Regions from separate parts of the Homo sapiens genome. Here region 1 is linked to region 2. The links are contacts of gene promoters, found by promoter capture Hi-C in blood cells and fetal thymus (Javierre and others, 2016). All regions are on one chromosome and are shown on one strand. Each heading gives the region's core, a stretch centred on a gene start or on the middle of the fragment in contact. The rest is flanking DNA. Distances are from core to core; before and after follow the strand shown. Region 1 overlaps SLC7A8 (solute carrier family 7 member 8). Region 2 holds the start of CMTM5 (CKLF like MARVEL transmembrane domain containing 5).

The links. The method cuts DNA at HindIII sites, captures the fragments that hold promoters and counts their contacts. A CHiCAGO score of 5 or more calls a contact.
Region 1: a contact is called between a fragment that was not itself captured here and the fragment with the promoter of CMTM5 in region 2, in 3 of 17 cell types (total CD8 T cells, activated CD4 T cells and naive CD8 T cells). The highest score is 5.6, in total CD8 T cells.

Annotation. Positions count from the first base shown.
Region 1 is chr14:23,128,214-23,132,986 of GRCh38, forward strand. It overlaps SLC7A8 (solute carrier family 7 member 8), which reads right to left. Exons shown (of 11, transcript NM_012244.4): 8 at 3,248-3,344; 9 at 1,437-1,586. Among named protein-coding and RNA genes, the nearest start is that of CEBPE, 11 kb to the left of the region's middle. The HindIII fragment of the contact is 927 bases long and covers 2,842-3,768 here.
Region 2 is chr14:23,373,755-23,378,795 of GRCh38, forward strand. It overlaps CMTM5 (CKLF like MARVEL transmembrane domain containing 5), which reads left to right and starts at 3,292. Exons shown (of 6, transcript NM_001288746.2): 1 at 3,292-3,623; 2 at 4,595-4,747; 3 at 4,915-5,041. The coding sequence starts at 3,498. It overlaps IL25 (interleukin 25), which reads left to right. Exons shown (of 3, transcript NM_172314.2): 3 at 1,871-2,649. The coding sequence ends at 2,126. The HindIII fragment of the contact is 2,824 bases long and covers 1,057-3,880 here.

The DNA of each region.
Region 1 (4,773 bases), core at 2,055-4,554, 250 kb before region 2:
GAGGCGTATGAACTGTGTAGGCCACGTGGCCCCCAGGACTAGGGACTGGGGCATTCTCTCTCTTCTTCACCCACAGAGACACATCCTCAAGGGCAAAGGCTGGGCTTCCCTCGGCTCTGTGGTCCCACACTCACCCCTGGTAGGGCAGGGGCTATATAAACAAATGTTGATGAACATGGTCGGTCAGACAGGAAGAGGATGGGGAGGAGTTAGGGAGGAAACGATCCTCCTTGCCCATGTCCTCGCTCTTGGGTGTGGTTAGACAAGGCCTCATCATGCATGCCATGTGCCCGTGGCAGCCAGAGAAGCCCACAGGGATGGAGAAGCTTGCTGGCACATGGGTGTGTCTGCTGAGGTCCTAGGGTGGAGGGGAGGTGTGGCAATGCACAAGGTGCAGGCAGGAGACGATTCGAGTCACTCAGGCTCCCTGGTCCTTGCCCACTTCTGTGCAGGGCCCTTATGTGGGCACAATATGGCAAATGTCAGCTCCTTATGGGCCACATGTGGGGAGTTCCTGAGAGTATCCTCTTCAGGGCTCCAGGGGCAGTCCTGATTCGGCTGCCTTTCTCTTCCTTGTCTTCCTCGCTCAGAAGGGATGTGTGTGGTGGGGACATGGGGTTATTCTACCTCCTCTTCCCTCTAGCAGATTTTCTAAGTGTGAGAGTAGAAAATGGCGGTGGAAATGCCAGTGAGGAACTGAGAGATTTGGAGAGCCTTTGATTTTTCAGCTGGAAGGATCTTCTAGAAGCATCTAGTCACTGTTTCTAGAATAGGATTGTTCAAATAGCTCTGGAGTACACTCTATTCTTCTAATTCGTAGGAGAACTCATAATGCTCTAGCATGTCCTGTTCTGAGCAATCCCTTTAATTCCTATCACAGAGTTATATCTTGTAGCAATATTAGGTTCACTGAGCACCCTATATGTGTAGGACTGTGGGAGTTTATAAAGGGAGGATCATGGGAGGTTGCAGTAGACTGGAAGACTTCAAGAAAGAGGAGGTACTTGAGGCGCATTTGGAAAATGGTTAAAATGTAGATGGGCAGATGGGAGGAGGAAGTCATTCTGGGATGGAGACATAGCACATAGTGAACCCAGCTATCTGGAGGGACAAGGAGGAAGTGTTGGGGAGATAAGAGAACCTTGAAAAGTCAGCTGGAGTTTAAGGCTTAGACTGGTAGGAAACAAAGGAATGTCATGATGAAAGTCACATTTGATCTGACTTATTCCCCAGCTGCAGTCTGCTCCGATCTCATCCCCAGTGGAGAATGGAAATAGTGGTCCCATTCACAAATGGCCCTTGCTTTCCAAAGGGTCTGCTACCATCAGAGATGATGACGTGTGGTCAGCAGCTAAGAACAGAGGTGATTTAAAAATCTGAACTGCAGCTAGAACCATAGAGGAAGGGGAGGGGACCCCAAAGGGAGTTTCTCTCACCTTGATGGGGCGGGGGATATCAGGCTTCTTCCAGCGAAGGACTATCTGTCCAGCAACCGTGACCCCATAGAAGAGGTAGTTGATGAAGCCCACATAGTTGATGAGTGTGTACATGTCGCTGGTGACCAGCATCAGCAGGGTGGAGATGCACTGGGAAAGTGGGAGGAGCTCATCAGTGATCCGAAAGATATTCAGAGACTGGTATTACAGATTAGGGGCTGTCCCCCAGCCTCCAGGCAGATGATGCCATCGTATAATGGATGTCTCGAAATGGAGACTTTAGAACCTCCCCTAGTAACCCAATATGTTACAACATCTTTATTGCTAGGAAATCCTTTCTTATTACAGGGGTGATGATCAAAATATTTAACCACTCGTATGGCACGGGCACTAGCCAATTAGAATGGATACTGGACATAAGCAGCTAGACTGGCCACACTGGTATTACCTGGCTCTGTGTCAGCCCCGGTCTCATTTGTATGCCTCTGTTGGTTATAGCTCAAGCTAAATTCATTTTTTTAAAATCCCTTAGGGAAGATTGTTAACAACAGATTAAGGCTGTATTCCTGCCCTCATCCTTTTCTCCTGGCTGAGTCATCTATTTTTCTTCCTTCCTTTTCTTTATTAATTTCAAAACTGGTTACATAGCACTTACTGTGTGCCAGGTCTCTATGTTTAGCATTTGACAAAGATTAACTCACTTAACCCTCATAACATCCCTATGAGGTTTTCTTGACAGAGTCTACTTTCCAACTTCAAAATCATCTCTGTGGCTCTCTTGGAACCATGCTCCTCCCCTCTGATAACTTGTGAAGGTCAACAAAAGGTTCTGTTCTCTTGTGAGATCCGATGGTTAAAATAATCGAGAAGATTTTAATGGTTCTTGCTACATCTGCCTTTTAGTCACACTACTGCACCAATAGCTCTAACTGGAAAAAACAAAACAAAACAAAACAAAAAAATGTGTGTGGCCCACTGGGAGTACTGTCTTCTCCAGCCACCTTCGACAACCAACCAGTCAAGGTGACCTTCATCCTGCATCTGAACATTCTGAAATTGTACAGCAATGCTGTAAAATGCTCTTGGCTCCCAAGAGCTCTGTTATTCTGATTGCTAACTGCTTCACCAGTGGACCAAAGTCATTTTTAGTGTTTTATTCAGGATCCAGAAGGAAAATAAAAATAACTCAAAAGACTCAATGGGGACAAGTCTTTGTTCCTTCCTATAGCTCTCTCAAAATGATTCTACTCTGGGGATATTTTACTCCCATCTCTTTCCTGTCCCAAGTTTCCTTTGCACAGTTTCCAGTTTATCAGTCTTCCTCTATTATTTTTCGTATTTGGTGTACTGTTAACACTAACTTCATTTCAATGATGTTTCCCAAGAGACTGGCAGGCTGCCCTGAAGCTTGATGGGGGAAGTGGGTGTTTGCAGGGACCAACCAGCCAGGAGCAGAGGCCAGTGCTGCAACCCTGTGGTAACAGGTGCGAGGAGAGCCAAGGGAGATATATTTTTTTTGAGGCTGTAGAATCCTGAGACAGTCAGTTCAGTCTGACCCAAAAGGATGGGAGAACGGAAATAAGTCAGCCTGAGAGCCTTAGGTATTTCAAGACTCAGGATCTTTCCTTGCTATATCTCTTGATATTAACAAAGATGATGGGTATCATTTGCCAGATCCTCTAAGATCCAGTGAGACCTAGCAGCAGACTGCAAGGGTAACAGGGGTGTGTGTGAAAAGCATGAACTCCCAGCTTAGACTAGGCACAAAGAGAGGGAGGTGTGTGGAGAGTTACAGCAGGAAGGGCCCTTACTGTGAAGAGCAGGGCTGGGATTGGGGTGCAGCGCTTCACGTGGATCATGGCCAACACACTGGGAAGGTGGCCCTCTCGGGCTCCAGCGAAGAACAGCCTGTCAGGGAGAAAAGCAGGTCAGCCTGGGATAACCCAGGGACCACCAAGCCCCAGCTCCTTCATCCTTGCCTACCTTCTGCCCACACAGGGGCATCCCCACTCCAACCAGGCACCCGCCTTCACATGCATACTTTCCACCCCACCAGTCACAGAACCTGTGTTCACAAATGCAGGTGCAAGCAAACCAGAGGCAGCCAGTGGAAAAGTGGATGAACCCTGGGTATGTTAGACCCTGAATGTGGTATGGGTGGCTCAGGGTTACTGATAATTGTACTGTCACTCAGTGGGGTGTTCCCAATGCCTGGAAGGCTGCAGGAGCAGCCTCTGTCTGTTGCCTAAAATCTTCATCTCTTTAAAAGCATTCCTCACATCCTCAAAGGATGCAGATTCCCTAATACACTGGGACTGAACTGCATATGGAAAGCTTTAAAAACACTCTATTTTTTTTTTTTTTTTTTTTTTTGAGATGGAGTCTGACTCTGTCGCCCAGGCTGGAGTGCAGTGCTGCAATCTCGGCTCACTGCAACCTCCGCCTCCCAGGTTTAAGCAATTCTCTGCCTCAGCCTCCCGAGAAGGTGGGATTACAGGTGTGTGCCACCATGCCCAGCTAATTTTTGTATTTTCAGTAGAGACGGGGTTTCACCATCTTGGCCAGGCTGGTCTTGAACTGCTGACCTCGTGATCCACTTGCCTCGGCCTCCCAAAGTGCTGGGACTACAGGCGTGAGCCACCGCGCCTGGCCTAAAAACACTCTTGTCCTAGTCAGAGAGTAGTTAGTTGTCTTTGTGGGAGTAGGGAATTGGTGGTGGAAATGTTCTCTATCTTGTTTTGGGTAGTGGTTGAATTTTGACAACTGTCAAAATTCATCAAATGGAAGCCAGGCACAGTGGCACACACCTATATTTCTAGCTACTTGGGAGGCTGAAGCAGGAAGATTGCTTGAGCCCAGAAGTTCAAAGCCAGCCTAGGCAACATAGTGAGACTCTGCCTCTAAAAAACAACAATAAAAAACAAAAATGAACAAACACAAACAAAAAAACCCCCACAAAACTCATCAAAATGAACATTTATGATCTGCTTTTTTTTTTTTTTTGAGACGGAGTTTCACTCTTGTTGCCCAGGCTGGAGTGCAATAGCACGATCTTGGTTCACCGCAACCTCCGCCTCCCAGGTTCAAGCGATTCTTCTGCCTCAGCCTCCCGAGTAGCTGGGATTACAGGCATGCGCCACCACACCCAGCTAATTTTTGTATTTTTGGTGGAGACGGGGTTTCTCCATGTTGGTCAGGCTGGTCTCGAACTCCCGACCTCAGGTGATCTGCCCGCCTCGGCCTCCCAAAGTACTGGGATTACAGGCATGAGCCACTATGCCCAGCCTATGATCTGCTTTTTAAAAAAAAAATTGAGGCAGGGTCTTGCCATGTTGCC
Region 2 (5,041 bases), core at 2,042-4,541:
AATATTAGGGAATAATGGCATGATACAGGCATGAAGCATCCCAATACCAATTGATACTGCCCTGGCCATGAATGGGTTAGTTATAAGCATACTAAAGGAGTGAAACCCTTAACTTTTGGGGGCAGCTGGCTGGCTGGAGCTGTGGACTGGATATCTTTGATCATGATCATGGGTACTGTATTCTTTCACTCAGTGTGCCACATAAATATTATAGTTCTCTATTTGTGCCATGATATGAAAAATATTAGGAAGTGCTGAAATATGAATGATGAAGCAAAATATTAAAAACTAGGGTCTTAGGGATTCCAGACATGTGATTTCACTTCTTCCTTCTAGTTCTGTCTTAGCATTGGCTTTGGGGGTAGATGGAGAAGTTCAGTGGTGGGGAGGGGGTCAGATCTAACTGAGATTGGATCTAGTGTGGACACTACAGGTCATGACTCTTTGGAGTGGTCTCAGAAGCTGGCTGGGTCCTGGGCCAAATCAGATGGCATGGGAGCTTCTTAGGGGAGGCGGGTGCCAGAGGTTAACTCAGCTGTCTTCCAGACCCCTTGCTGGGAGTCTGTGAACCCGAGAACCACTCAGGTGGCTTTCCCCAAAGTGTGTTCTGTGCAATGCTCATCCCATGAGCTGCTTCTCAGAAAAAAGTGATGCCAGGTAAACTTGGGAAAGACTGCTGTATCTCCTACCCCTTGGAGATTCATACTGTCATTGTACATTAAAGTCTGCAAGAAGTCTGTAGAAAGTAAACCGTTAAACTGGTGTTTCCCAAATTCATTTAAGCACCCAACAGGTGCAGGTGATTTATTAGGGAACCCACTTTGGGAAGTGATGTGCTAGCTAATTCCATTTGCCAGGGCTTGTCTGTGTGGGGAATGGTCCCACAAGCTGGAGACTGTCGCCTGCCAGACTAATGGAGTCGCAGACCTGTGGGACATCTACTTTTCAGTGTTTTTCATCTTTCTTTCTTTCTTTCTTTTTTTTTTTTTGCCATGAAATCCTTTCAGAATAAGTAAATAAGTCTTCCCATGCACTCTCAAGTATGCTTATAATATAAGCTTGCACAGCGTCTGGAAGAATGTGCAGGAAATAGTTGAGGATAGCTTCTTCTGGGGAGTGGGGCTGGTAGGGAGAGACTATTAACTTTCACTCTTTATACTCTTTAATACTTGGATGTCAGAGTGGTTTTTACTTTTGCAATAATGCTATAATAATAATAGAAACACCACCTAAAGTCCGGCCCGGTGGCTCATGCCTGTAATCCCAGCACTTTGGGAGGTCGAGGTGGGTGGATTACCTAAGGTCAGGAGTTCAAGACCAGCCTGGCCAACCATGGCCAACATCATGAAACCCCATCTCTACTAAAAATATGAAAATTAGCTGGGTATGGTGGCGGGCATCAGGAGAATCGCTCGAACCCAGGAGGTAGAGGTTGCAGTTGAGCCAAGATCGTGCCACTGCACTCCAGCTTGGGTACTCCGTCTCAAAAAAACAAAAACAAAAAATCAAAAAACAAACAAAAACACCTAAAGTGTAATCATTACAATAAGAAACCTCATGCTGAGTCAGATAGAAGCAGTGCTGGTCAATGGAGGCTAAGGCAGGAGCCTGCTCACCCTCCCCTGCCTCCCTCACGGTCCCAGGACCAGTTGGAAAGCACTCTGTCACCTGCTACCCTCATTTACAGTGGGGAAAATTTAATAAAGGAGGGAGGTGACTTGTTCAAAGTTACACAGCAAGTGGGTTCAGAACTGAGACAAGAGGCCAAGGCCCCAGACGGACCATTTCCTTCTTCTGGCACTCCCATGCCACCCCACCCTCTCTGTTTCCGGCCCATCTTTCCAAGGCCTGACAAGTGCCGCCCCCACAGGTTGGACAGAGACTTGAACCGGCTCCCCCAGGACCTGTACCACGCCCGTTGCCTGTGCCCGCACTGCGTCAGCCTACAGACAGGCTCCCACATGGACCCCCGGGGCAACTCGGAGCTGCTCTACCACAACCAGACTGTCTTCTACCGGCGGCCATGCCATGGCGAGAAGGGCACCCACAAGGGCTACTGCCTGGAGCGCAGGCTGTACCGTGTTTCCTTAGCTTGTGTGTGTGTGCGGCCCCGTGTGATGGGCTAGCCGGACCTGCTGGAGGCTGGTCCCTTTTTGGGAAACCTGGAGCCAGGTGTACAACCACTTGCCATGAAGGGCCAGGATGCCCAGATGCTTGGCCCCTGTGAAGTGCTGTCTGGAGCAGCAGGATCCCGGGACAGGATGGGGGGCTTTGGGGAAAGCCTGCACTTCTGCACATTTTGAAAAGAGCAGCTGCTGCTTAGGGCCGCCGGAAGCTGGTGTCCTGTCATTTTCTCTCAGGAAAGGTTTTCAAAGTTCTGCCCATTTCTGGAGGCCACCACTCCTGTCTCTTCCTCTTTTCCCATCCCCTGCTACCCTGGCCCAGCACAGGCACTTTCTAGATATTTCCCCCTTGCTGGAGAAGAAAGAGCCCCTGGTTTTATTTGTTTGTTTACTCATCACTCAGTGAGCATCTACTTTGGGTGCATTCTAGTGTAGTTACTAGTCTTTTGACATGGATGATTCTGAGGAGGAAGCTGTTATTGAATGTATAGAGATTTATCCAAATAAATATCTTTATTTAAAAATGGCCTAATCTGTATTTGGCATCCGTGGTGCCTGAACATCTCGCGGTCTCCCAGCCTGTCCCTTCTCCTTTCCACCATTGGCCCTCACCTCTGTCCACCCTGCCAGCTCTCTCCGCCCTCCAGAGTTTCCGCTGCACCCTCCCGTCCTCTCCCATCTCTGTCTCCCTGGCCCATCCCAAACACCAGGGTGGGGGCTAGGCCGCGCTCCCGGCATGCTGGAGAGACAGAGGCCCATTGAGGCATTGCAGCAGGCACAGAGCGCCCCCTTGTCCCCCAACAATCCGCCTTTGTCCTCCAGTCCTGGCTGCTGCAGCTTGGTCCTGGGGGTGCTGCCTGGGCTGGGCTCCAGCTCACACCCTCCCTAAAAGGAAATGGGAGAAAGGACCGGCCAAACAAGAGGGTTAAGGTTAGAGAAGGGGGACACAAATGTCTTCAGGCTTAGGTCCCTGGGGGCTCCCAGTCCTGCCCCTGTTCCTCTACTCACATCCCAGCTCCTCCCAGTTTCTTTTCGGACCTCCTCCTCTCCCCTTCCTTCTCTATTCCAGGCTGGGTTGGGCTCTAAGCAAGGGGAGGGATTAGAGCCTCCTTCCTCTCTGCCCCTCCCCATGGGTCTCTAGGGGGCTGGTGCAGGCAGCAGCAGAGGCACTCTGGGCAGCTGGGTGAGGGCCCATCTGGGCAAGGCCCCCAGCGCCTGCCTTCTCTCCCGGGGCCCTGTGGGCAAGCCTCCTGCTTCACTTTCAGGTTTCTCGAAGTGCCTTCTTGCTCCTGTCTGTTTCCCCATCCTGCCAGATTTCTGTTTCTCTTGCTGGGCTTTTGGCAGTAGGGGGCTGTGTTGGTGGGCCCTACGAAGATGCTCAGTGCTCGAGATCGCCGGGACCGGCACCCTGAGGAGGGGGTAGTTGCAGAGCTCCAGGGCTTCGCGGTGGACAAGGCCTTCCTCACCTCCCACAAGGGCATCCTGCTGGAAACCGAGCTGGTAACAGCTGCCTCCCAACCTGGTGCCTCCATCTCCCTGACCCCCGGCTCCTGGCCAGCCTTATGCCAGCCCCCAGCTCACCCTTCAGTAGCCTCCTTCCCCAAGCCCTCTGGACACCTCTCCTGCCCGCAGCTGCCCCTTCTTCGTCTCCTACTCTGCCTTCTTGCTGCCTCTCCACCCGGAGACATTTACAGCAGGTTTCAGTTGCAGCAGGAAGGACTGCAGTTAGACAGGGTGACTTTTTGGGACATTGAGGAAGCTTGAGACATAGGGATGGGACAGGGGCAATGACAGCCTCTAACATGGCCACTTCTCAGCACGTCCAAGAAGTCTAACTATCAAAAAGGGCAGACTTCCTGCAACTGCACTTTATCTGTGGTCTGCTGCCCAGAAACATCTCTTCTCAGGAAAGGATCTTCCCCTGGTTACTTAGCAAGACCACAGTGTAGAGTTAAGGCCTCTGCACGTATGCCACCCTAGGTCATCAGAGCTAAAGGGGCTCCCAGAAACCACTGGGCAGCATCTGCCTTCTCTCTTGGCATGGAATCAAAGGCTCTGGTCCTTGTCAGGGGGCTTTCAGGCATCTGGGGGTGGGGAAAGCATTATGAGGCAGGGGGCTCCTCTTGGTCCCTGTGGAGTCGGGTCTCTGTGGGCACAACTCCAGGGGCTGGCATTCACACTGTACCTATGAATTACTGTGGGATAGTGCTCCTGGGAGCCATATGGCTTGGCCAGACTGCTGGGGTTGCTGGGTGAGCAGAGTGGGAGGCCGGAGACTGCCCTTGACCGGCAAATGCCCTGCAACGGTGGCTCCTGACACCAGGGGATAGGGAGATGTGCCAGAGTCCTTCCTCCCCTCCAAGGACAGGTAGTAGGTGCCAGCCTAGGGGAGCTTCCAAGGAGGGGAAGGCAAAGCCCTGGCCCCTGCCTGTGTCCCCTTCTTGGCATGTTCCACATGCTCGGTCCTGCAGGCCCTGACCCTCATCATCTTCATCTGCTTCACGGCCTCCATCTCTGCCTACATGGCCGCGGCGCTACTGGAGTTCTTCATCACACTTGCCTTCCTCTTCCTCTATGCCACCCAGTACTACCAGCGCTTCGACCGAATTAACTGGCCCTGTCTGGTGAGGAACCCTGACCCCTAGCCCAGTTTGGGGCCCTTCCCTCTCCTCTAAATGATGCATTTTCCTTTCCTCCCCGAGCTTCTTTCCATTTCCACACCACAGCTGGGCTTTGTCCCATGCTATGCCCTGCACTCAAAGGTGTGCTTTGACTCACACTGATTTCACAGCTGCAGGGCCACGGGCAATCAGGAGGACCACATCCGCTAGATCTACTCTCCCACTCAGCAAAGGTCCAGCCCCAGCCCTGGCCTGGCTTGACCCCCCCGGGCTGGCATACTCCAGCCGCTGTCCCCT